2 separate regions of the Homo sapiens genome follow, and region 1 is linked to region 2. The links are contacts of gene promoters, found by promoter capture Hi-C in blood cells and fetal thymus (Javierre and others, 2016). All regions are on one chromosome and are shown on one strand. The core of a region is centred on a gene start or on the middle of the fragment in contact, and the rest is flanking DNA. Distances in the headings are between cores, read along the strand shown. Region 1 holds the start of DPRX (divergent-paired related homeobox). Region 2 holds the start of NLRP9 (NLR family pyrin domain containing 9).

The links. The method cuts DNA at HindIII sites, captures the fragments that hold promoters and counts their contacts. A CHiCAGO score of 5 or more calls a contact.
Region 1: a contact is called between the fragment with the promoter of DPRX here and the fragment with the promoter of NLRP9 in region 2, in 1 of 17 cell types (monocytes). The highest score is 5.8, in monocytes.

What each region holds. Positions count from the first base shown.
Region 1 is chr19:53,630,699-53,636,010 of GRCh38, reverse strand. DPRX (divergent-paired related homeobox) reads right to left here and starts at 4,012. Exons shown (of 3, transcript NM_001012728.2): 1 at 3,877-4,012; 2 at 1,326-1,480. The coding sequence starts at 3,904. The HindIII fragment of the contact is 17,175 bases long and covers 1,115-5,312 here.
Region 2 is chr19:55,736,075-55,741,717 of GRCh38, reverse strand. NLRP9 (NLR family pyrin domain containing 9) reads left to right here and starts at 3,316. Exons shown (of 9, transcript NM_176820.4): 1 at 3,316-3,623. The coding sequence starts at 3,344. It also overlaps the pseudogene RN7SKP109. The HindIII fragment of the contact is 10,494 bases long and covers 3,239-5,643 here.

The DNA.
Region 1 (5,312 bases), core at 2,763-5,262, 2.1 Mb after region 2:
CCTCTTTGTGGAACCCTACTCAATCTACTCCCAGGAAGGAGCAGAAATGAGAGATTTTGGGGACAGAAATTGAGACAGGGGTCAGAAAACCCAGAGCAGGGGATAGGAGAGCAAGGGGATCAGTCGCAGGGGCTGCTCTGGGGCTCAGGCCAGCCAGCTAAGGCTGGTGGCCAAATCTGACCACCCCCTGTCTTTGTATCACCCATGCACTAAGAATAGGCTTTACGTTTTAAAATGGTTGAGAAAAAACAAACACAATAAGAGTACTATTTTGTGTTGTATGTGTGTTGGGACTGAAAGAAAAAAGAGAGAAAATAAAAGAATACTACTGGCCAGGCACAGTGGCTCATGCCTATAATCCCAGGACTCTGGGAGGCTGAGGTGGGTGGATCACTTGATTTCAGGAGTTTGAGTCCAGCCTGGGCAACATGACGAAACCCCATCTCTACAAAAAACACACAAATTGGCTGGGCCTGGTGGTACACACCAGTAGTATCAGCTGCTCGGGAGGCTGTAGTACCACACACCTGTAGTCCCACCTACTTGGGAATCTGAGTGGGAGGATGGCTTCAGCCCAGGAATTCAAAGCTGCAGTGAGCTATGATCGTGCCACTGCACTCCAATGTGGGCAAGAGCAACACCCTGTCTTAAAACAAAACAAAACAACACTATTTTGTAATGTGAAAATTGTATAAACTTCAGGCCAGGCGCAGTGGCTTATGCCTATAATCCTGACACTTTGGGAGGCCAAGGCAGGTGAATCACTTGAGACCAGGAGTTCAAGATCAGCCTCCTGGGCAATATAGCGAAACCCCATCTCTACAAAAAATAAAATACAGCCGGGCTCATGCTTGTAATCCCAACACTTTGGGAGGCGTAGTGTGCACCTGTAGACCTGTAGTCCCAGCTACTTGGGGTGCTGAGGTGGTAGGATTGCTTGAGCCCGGGAGGTCGAGGCTGCAGTGAGCTGTGATTGCACCACCGTGCTCCAACCTGAGTAAAAGAGTTTCTGGGAACACAGATGGGCCTCTTGTTTACGTTGTCTGTGGCTGCCTTCGCACTGTGGTGGCATAGTTAAAATAGTTGCTAGAGAGACGGTATGGCCCACAAAGCTTCAATTATTTACTACCTGGTCCTTTACTGGAAAAATTTTCCCATTCTTGCTCTAGGGGGTTGAAGAAAGGTTTACGGGGACGTGAGTAGGAGAGTGTGGGTTTGGGGAATATTGGCGATTGGAATGAGACCTCAGGAATTATCCTAGAGGGACTCTGAATTTAGATTAGATCAGGAAGGCAGTTTAGTGAGAAGAGGGATCATTTTCCAACCTGCAGTACTGTTGGGTGTATGTCTATTTTCGAGGCCATTTCTTTCTGAAGGCTGGGGTTTGGGTATGGGTTCTCATTGAACAAGATGTTCAGATCTTCCAGTTGCTTCTTAGTGAACATGGTTCGTTTCCTGTGTGAATGCATCTGGTCCTTGCCTTGAAAGAGGAGGAAAAAGACACAAATGGGAAATGCTAACAACTCCATTCTCAAAAGCCTGAGCTTTCCTTTCCTTTCCACTGAGGTACAACGTGATGATCAAGTGACTGAGGTTCTGTCACCGAGGCTGGAGTGCAGTGGCACAATCTCAGCTCACTGCAACCTCCACCTCCTGAGTTCAAGCGATTCTCCTGCCTCAGCCTCCCGAGTAGCTGGGATTACAGGCGCACGCCACCATGCCCGGATAATTTTTGTATTTCTAGCAGAGACAGGGTTTCACCATGTTGGCTAGGCTGGTCTCGAACTCCTGACCTCAGGTGATCCACCCGCCTCGGCCTCCCAAAGTGTTGGGATTACATGCGTGAGCCACTGTGCCCGGCCGTGACTGAGGTTCTTAGATATGGAGACACTGCTGGCCGGGGTCGTGCCTCAGGCTGCAGTCCCAGTACTGTGGGAGGCTGAAGCGGGAGGACAACTTGATCTGCCTTTTGTCCTTGTTTTTCCAAGCCTCATTTGTCATTTTCATAGGAAAAGGTTGTTCCTTTCCCCCTTGGTTCCTCCATCCTTTTTTTCTGTTATCATTTAAATATGGGATCCCTTGCTCACGCCTGTAATCCCAGCACTTTGGGAGGCCAGGGCGGGCAGATCATATCAGGTCATGAGTTTGAGACCAGCCTGGCCAGCATGGTGAAACCCCATCTCTATTAAAAACACAAAAATTTGGCCGGGCACAGTGGCTCATGCCTGTAATCCCAGCACTTTGGGAGGCCAAGGCGGGCGGATCATGAGGTCAAGAGATCAAGACCATTCTGGCTAACATGGTGAAACCCTGTCTCTACTAAAAGTACAAAAATTAGCTGGGCGTGATGGTGCACGCCTGTAGTCCCAGCTACTCGGGAGGCTGAGGCAGGAGAATCGCTTGAACCTCAGAGGCAGAGGCTGTGGTGAGCCGAGATTATGCCACTGCACTCCAGCCTGAGACAGAGGGAGACCCTGTCTCAAGAAAATAATAAATAAATAAATAAATAAATACGTAAATAAGGGATCGCTTGTGCCTTACCTCTTGGGTTCTATTTTCTTTGTGTAGAAATAGGCAACTCAATCCAAGGTGAAATGGATGGACATGGTTTTATTCTTATCATTTATTCAATGTTCATTAAGTATATTCTTTTAGGAATATAGCAAGGAAATAAGCAGAAAAATAACATCACTGCTGTCACGGATGTCACCTTTTACTTTCTTTTTCTTGAGACAGTGTACTGCTGTGTTGCCCAGTGGCATGATCACAGCTCACTTCAGCCTCAACCTCCCCAGGCTCAAGCGATCCTCTCACCTCAGCCTCCCGAGTAGCTGGAACTACACAACACTGACATGCCCGGCTAATTTTTGTATTTTTTGTAGAGACAACGTCTTGTTTTGTTGCCCAGGCTGGTCTTGAACTCCTGGGCTGAAGCGATCTGCCCACCTCGGCCTCCCAAAGTGCTGGGATTACAGGCATGAGCCACCGCATGCCTCGCTCTAAAAGATCTGAATCGCATCATGCCTGAAAATGGTTTGGCAGCAGCTCCAGAGTCTAGTAAGTGCTCATGAACATGAGATTTCCAGCTTGGCTAAGCCTATATTCTATCTAGGACCTAATCATCCTCATAGGAATCAGATTCCCCTGTGCTCAAGAACAAGCATCGGGGTGGGAAGAATTAGGACACAACTACGAGGGAGAAGATTTCGGATTTGAAGGCAGAAACAGGCTTCCCTGCATTTGCCTGTGCTGTCAGATGACAGCCGCGGCCGGGCACCGAGGCTCATGCCTGTAATCCCAGCACTTTGGGAGGCCGAGGCCAGCCAATCACATGAGGTCAGGGGCTTGAGACCAACCTAGCTAACATGGTGAAACCCCATCTCTATAAAGATACAAAACTTGGGCCGGGTGCAGTGGCTCACGCCTGTCACCCCAGCACTTTGGGAGGCTGAGCCAGACGGATCACAAGGTCAGGAGTTCGAGACCAGCCTGGTCAATATGGTGAAACCCCCGGCTCTACTAAAAATACAAAAAAAAAAAAAATTAGCCAGGTGTGGTGGCGTGTGCCTGTCATCCCAGCTACTCGGGAGGCTGAGGCAGGAGAATTGCTTGAACCTGGGAGGTGGAGGTTGCAGTGAGCCGAAATCGTGCCACTGCACTCCAGCCTGAGCGACAGAGTGAGACTGTCTCAAAAGACAAACAAAACAAAACAAAACAACAACAACAAAAACGATGACAGCCTCTGTGGGAAGTCCCTGCCACCCACGTGGACGAAGCACCAGCTTCGGCCGCCTGGTCCCTCTGCCTTTTCCCGCCGCCAGCTGCTTTCCACTTCTTCACGTGTCTTTGCTTCGGTTCTCATTTTTTCTGGCTTACCTTTACGAAGATCCTCTGAGCCTGGCATCTTCTAATCCAGATGTGCGCCTGGGTTCAGGTCCAGGGATAAGAACTAGCAAAGATCAAATCCGGATTTAAGTAGCTTCCTCCACAGCCACACCCGACTCCCACCTCCTCCACCTTTCTCTGCCCTATCTGCCTCCAATATGATCCCTCGGTCCTCCAGAGCCCCCTGGATTTCTCCCAATACTGTCATTTTATCTAATATTGATTGAGCGGAGACCAACGACTCAAAGGCGAGTCCACAAACCAGCCCCACTAACACTCCTGGGAGTTGTTAAAATGCAGAATCCTGGCCCACTCCAGACTTCCTGAGCAGAAGCTGCAATTTCTTTTCTTTTTTTCTTTTTCTTTGAGACAGAGTCCCACTCTGTCACCCAGGCTGGAGCGCAATGACACCATCTTGGCTCACTGCAGCCTCTGCCTCCCAGGTTCAAGGGATTCTCATGTCTCAGCCTCCCGAGTAGCTGAGATCACAGGCCTGTGCCACCACTCCTGACTAATTTTTGTATTTTTAGTAGAGACGGAGTTTCCGCCATGTTGGCCAGGCTGGTCTTGAACTCCTGCCCTCAACGTTTCTGACTCGGTCTGGGGTGGGATCTGATGATTTCCATATCTAACAAGCACCCAGGTGACCAGGCTCCGTAATGGGGACCGGGAATGTGATTGTGAATAATGAAGTCCAGGTTTAAACCCTAAAGGGGCTTTCAGGCAACTTATATATTCTTTAGTGGCTAATATATGCTTGGCATTGTTCTGCATATCCTGATTTAGTTAACTCACTCAGAAATCATCTCATTTTATTTATTTATTTATTTATTTAGAGATGGAGTCTCACTCTGTCACCCAGGCTGGAGTGCAGTGGCACGATCTCGGCTCACAGCAACCTCCGCCTCTCAGGTTCAAGCAATTCTCCTGCCTCAGCCTTCCCAGTAGCTGGGATTACAGGCACCCACCACCAAGCCTGGCTAATTACAGGTGGCTCACACCTGTAATCCCAGCACTTTGGGAGGCTGAGGCAGGCGGATCACCTGAGGTCAGGAGTTCGAGACCAGCCTGGCCAACATGGCGAAACCCCATCTCTACTAAAAATACGAAAATTAGCTGGGTGTGGTGGTGGGCACCTGTAATCCCAGCTACTCAGGAGGCTGAGGCAGGAGAATTGCTTGAACCCAGGAGGCAGAGGTTGCAGTGAGCTGAGATCGCACCACTGCACTCCAGCCTGGGTGACAGGAGTGAGACTCCATCTCAAAAAAATAAAAGAAAAAGCTGCAACACCTTTCAGATGCCCAGGCTCACACCATGTATACCTTTTATCTTGACGACAAGGGCAGTTTGACTTCAGGTTCACAGAAGTGGCAGTTTTTCTTGCCATTCCATCCATTTGAATCTCAGTTCTGCACATCTCTACTTGT
Region 2 (5,643 bases), core at 2,067-4,566:
GCGGAGCTTGCAGTGAGCCGAGATCGCACCACTGCACTCCAGCCTGGGGACAGAGTGAGACTCCTTCTCAAAAAAAAAAAAAAAAAAAAAAAAACTCCTTCCTTTTTTTTTTTTTTTGAGACAGAGTCTCGCTCTGTCGCCCAGAGTGGAGTTCAGTGACGCAATCTTTGCTCACTACAACCTCCGACTCCCAGGTTCAAGCGATTCTCCTGCCTCAGCCTCCTGAGTTAGCTGGGATTACAGGCACCTGCCACCACACCTGGCTAATTTTTTTTTTGTATTTTTAGTAGAGACGGGGTTTCACCATGTTGACCATGCTGGTCTCGAACTCCTGACCTCAGGTGATCCAACCGCCTCAGCCTCCCAAAGTGCTGGGGTTACAGGCAGGAGCCACCGGGCCCAGCATCCTTCCTTTTTAAGGCTGTATAATACTGTATTTATAGACTGCATTTCACTTTTCCATTCATCTGTTGATGAACACTTGGGTCACTGATGCTCCTATTAACATGAGTGTCCGGATAACTCTGAGAGAGTCTGCTTTCAATTCTTTGGGGTTGCTGGATCCTACAGTAATTCTGTTCTTATTTTTTCAGGAAATATGATACAGTTTTCCACAGTGGCTGAACCATTTAACATTTATACGTCACTAGGATACAAGGGTTCCAGTTTCTCTACCTTCTCATCAACACTTGTTTTGAATTTTTTTTTTTTTGTAGTTACCATCTTAGTGGATGTGAAGGATTATCTCATTGTAGTTGTGATCTGTATTTCCCTAATGGTTAGTGACGTTGAGCCTCTTTTTATGTGCTTATTGGCTATGGACCATTTGTATATCTTTGGAGAAATGTCTATTCTAGTCCTTTTCTCATTGTTATAAGATTGTTTTGTTATTGAGTTTTAGGCATTCCCTGTAATCTGGATTTTAATCCCTGTGAGATACATGCTTTGCAAATATTTTCTCCCATTCTGTTGGTTGACTTTTTACTCTTTTGATATCGTCTTTGTTTTTGAGACAGAGTCTCGCTCTGTCACCCAGGCTGGAGTGTAGCGGTGTGATCTCAGCTTGCTGCAGCCTCCGCCTCCCGAGCAGCTGGGATTACAGGTGTCTGCCACCACGCCTGGCTAATTTTTGTATTTTTAGTAGGGACAGGGTTTCACCATGTGGGCCATGGGTCTCAAACTCCTGGCCTCAAGTGATCCACCTGCTGCGGCCTCCCAAAGTGCTGGGATTACAGGCATGAACCACCGCACCTGGCTGATACTGTCTTTTGATGCACAAAATTTTAAAATTTTTATAAAGTCCAGTTTGTCTATTTTTTTCTTTTGTCTGTGTCATGTCATATTCAAGAAATAATCCAGACCAAATCTGTGTCTGGAAGCTTCTGCCCTACATTTTCTCCTAGGAGTTTTATACTTTGGGCCTTCCATTTAGATCTTCTTCAATCCATTTTGCATTAATTTTTGTTTATGGTATTAAGGGTCCAAGTTTATTCTTTTGCATGTGACCATAGATGGTATGTAACCTTTGCTAATGGTTTGTAATTATCTGAAAGGTATATTAGCTCAGATACAATGATATTGCGTTTGTCATCATCTCCTTATGTGTAAAGTGGTATTCCCAGGTGCACATATGCTCATGAGTTCTAGATCTTGGGGAACTGAATCTTGGTGTTCAAAAATTCTTAGTCCATTTAGTGCTTTCTAGCTTGAGTGTTTTTCAATGCTGATATTTTATACTATTAATACTTTTTTGGGTAAGAATTTGCCAGGCTTTTTCTTCTTCTGTTTTACTTCTCTGTGTATTTTCTAGGATTCTCTTATAAACAGCATATAGCAGGATTTGTATTTATCCAATGTGAGTCTATATATTAGTGAGCAATTTTATTTCATTCATATGTGTTAAGATTATATTTAGGCTGGGCGCAGTGGCTCAAGCCTATAATCCCAGCACTTTGGGAGGCTGAGGCAGGTGGATCACCTGAGGTCAGGAGTTCGAGACCAGCCTGGCCAACATGGTGAAACCCCATCTCTACTAAAAATACAAAAAAAAAAAATTAGCCGGGCATGGTGGCAGGTGCCTGTAATCCCAGCTACTTGGGAGGACGAGGCAGGAGAATCATTTGAACCTGGGAGGCAGAGGTTGCAGTGAGCTGAGGTCATACCATTGCATTCTAGTCTGGGCAACAAGAGTGAAACTCTATCTCAAAATACATATCTATATATATTTGGTATTATTTTTGCCACCTGTCTTATTTTGTCTACCATATATTTCTACTTCATTTCCTGTCTTTTGTTGAATTGCAATGATTATCTGAAGGGTTTATAATACTGGGAACGTTCACTGCTCTGTTTCTGTCTGAGTTGTCTGCAGATGCTAACCTATAGTAAATCTAACTTTTTCCTTATATACTGTAATAAGAAGGCATATACCGGCCGGGCACGGTGGCTCATGCCTGTAATCCCAGCACTTTGGGAGGCCGAGGCGGGTGGATCACGAGGTCAGGAGATCGAGACCATCCTGGCGAACACAGTAAAACCCCATCTCTACTAAAAATACAAAAAAATTAGCCGGGTGTGGTGGCAGGCACCTGTAGTCCCAGCTACTCAGGAGGCTGAGGCAGGAGAATGACGTGAACCCGGGAGGCAGAGCTTGCAGTGAGCCGAGATTGCGCTACTGCACTCCAGCCTGGGCATCAGAGCGAGACTCTGTCTCAAAAAAAAAAAAAAAAAAGAAGGCATATACCACTAAACGATAAAAAAAAATTTAAATTTGCTTTTATGTCCTCTTCCTTTATTTTCATCTTCCTGAATGTGATCATCTGTAATTTTAATATCCGTTCATTTTTTCATTATCAAAATTGGATTAGACTATACTAAGGATGGGAAGGTCTACAGAGCAAACAAACTCATAGAATGCTGGTAGGAATGTCAGTAATTATATACACAAGGGAAAACCGTTGAGTGTTATGTAGCAAACATGGTGACCTGTGTTTGCTGTTTGACCTATAATTTATAAATCTAGAGAAATGTGTGCTTATATACACCAAACTACACAAAAACACTTGTTCCTGGAAGCATCATTTATGTCAGACAAAAACAAGACACATAAGTGGCAGTCAACTCTACCATTCACATGCATTTGTTTGGAAAAAGATGAAGCTTCTTCCCTAGATGATGTTTGGTGCAAGCTACGCATGATGATATCAATAATTTTGAGCTGCTTTCAGCTGCTGAAGCTTAACTCTGTAATCATGTCATTCTTCTCCAGGTATCATTTATTCTTTATTTTTGAGGATCTTTCTTTTCCCTCTGGAGACACCTCAGTTCACAATCCTGGGGCGATATGGCAGAATCTTTTTTTTCGGATTTTGGCTTGTTGTGGTATCTGAAGGAGCTCAGAAAGGAAGAGTTTTGGAAATTTAAGGAGCTCCTCAAACAACCTTTGGAGAAATTTGAACTCAAGCCAATCCCCTGGGCTGAGCTGAAGAAGGCCTCCAAAGAAGATGTAGCAAAGCTGCTGGACAAACATTACCCAGGAAAGCAGGCATGGGAGGTAACACTGAACCTGTTTCTACAGATCAATAGGAAAGATCTCTGGACAAAGGCTCAGGAAGAGATGAGAAGTAAGTGCTGGATGATGGGGCGAGGACCCATGGGGGAAGCCTGGGAACAAGGTGATAGCATTGTTAAATGAGTGGCCACCCCCTCCATCAGATGAGAATGTGTGTGGGTCAAGGTGAGAGTTGAAGGTAGGAAGAGTTGCAGGCCAGGGCTGTTCATATGTGGGCCAGCGATGAACTGGGGACAGATGGCGTCCTGATACCAACTGTTCACCTATGGAGTGTCTTCCCATTTTTCCACCCCAAGTGGAGTCGTTGTTATAGGAGATGAGTGGCCAGTTAGTGTCTGCATTGCCAGGTCTACTGAGATGGAATTCTAGTATGGTAGTTGCCTATCTTTTTTTTTTTTTTTTTTTTTTTTTTAGAGAAAGGGTCTTGCCATGTTGCTCAGGCTGGTCTTGAACTCCCAGGCTCAAGTGATCCACCTGCCTAGGCATCCCAAAGTGCTGTGATTACAGGAGTGAGCCACCATGCCTAACTGCCTGTCCTTTTTGACCAGACATGTACCAAGGAGTAGGTAGAATCTTAAGACAATCAGACAGCGTATGTCCCGGGTACTACAGGAAGCATTCTTGCGAGCTTGTTTGGAGGTTCTAGTAGGGGAGCACAGCTTCTCTTCTGCCCGCGATGGAAGGACCTTCCTCTATGGGCAAAGGTTGTCATCGTCTTTGACCCAGGGGAGACTTTCAGGACGGACGCATATGGAGCAGTGAGGGAGGAAGTGGACACCCACCCAGCTGGCCACATCAGCCGAATTAGCCCTGGGGCGACCAATGGGGTGACAGACATCACAGCCAGGTTGTCCTCACGTCCTGGAAGCATTCTTTCTGCATAATGTCTTTTCATTCTTATCACAACCCAGGAAAGGTTTACAAGTGAGAAAACTGGACAAAACAGTGTTCCCATGTGTTACATGACTTTTCCAAAAGTGACAGATCTGACTCCGAACCAGTTCTGCTGGACTCATTGATGGGGTCTACACCCTCCTCTCGGGGGATACTTAGGAAAAACTAAATATATTCCCTATTAGGTATCTAGTAATTAGCATTTGTTTCTGATGATTGTTATCTTCTCCCTTTACTTTTGAGTTCCATCAACTTCTGTTACGTTTACTTCTGTTTTGTTCATGTTTCTTCTTTGTGTTGGTAATTCTAATTTGAGACCTTATTTCGTATCCCCACATGCTTGAGGGTATTTTATTTGGTTTGGAGTTGCTTGCTGTGTTAGTTTTTTGTTTTTTTTTTTGTTTTTGTTTTATTTTTTTGAGACGGAGTCTTGCTCTGTTGCCCAGGTTGGAGGGCAGTGACATGATCTCGGTTCACTGCAACTTCTGCCTCCCAGGTTCAAGCGATTCTCCTTCCTCAGCTTCCCGAGTAGCTGGGATTACAGGCATGCACCACCACGCCCAGCTAATTTTTGTATTTTTAGTAGAGACGGGGTATCACCATGTTGGTCAGGCTGGTCTCAAACTCCTGACCTCAGATGATCCTCCTGCCTGGGCTTCCCAAAGTGCTGTGATTACAGGTGTGTGCCAGTTTTCTTTATCTGTGTGGTTCGTGTCTTTGACTTTTCTGCTGATTAATGTTCTATGTTGGCAGATGAAAAAATGACCGAGTCAGTGTCTGAACTGAGAGTTTCTCACTTGGGACACTGAGGTCCTAAATGTTATAAAAATCTCTAAGACATGACATGACTTTTTTCTTTTTTGAGACGGAGTCTCGCTCTGTCGCCCAGGCTGGAGTGCAGTGGCGCGATCTCAGCTCACTGCAAGCTCTGCCTCCCGGGTTCCCACCATTCTCCTGCCTCAGCCTCCCAGGTAGCTGGGACTACAGGCGCCTGCCACCACGCCCAGATAATTTTTTGTATTTTTAGTAGAGATGGGGTCTCACCGTGTTAGCCAGGATGGTCTCGATCTCCTGACCTCATGATCCACCCACCTCAGCCTCCCAAAGTGCTGGGATTACAGGCGTGAATCATCAGTTTTAAATAACCTTGCTTATGAATTTTGTCTCAAAAAAAAACC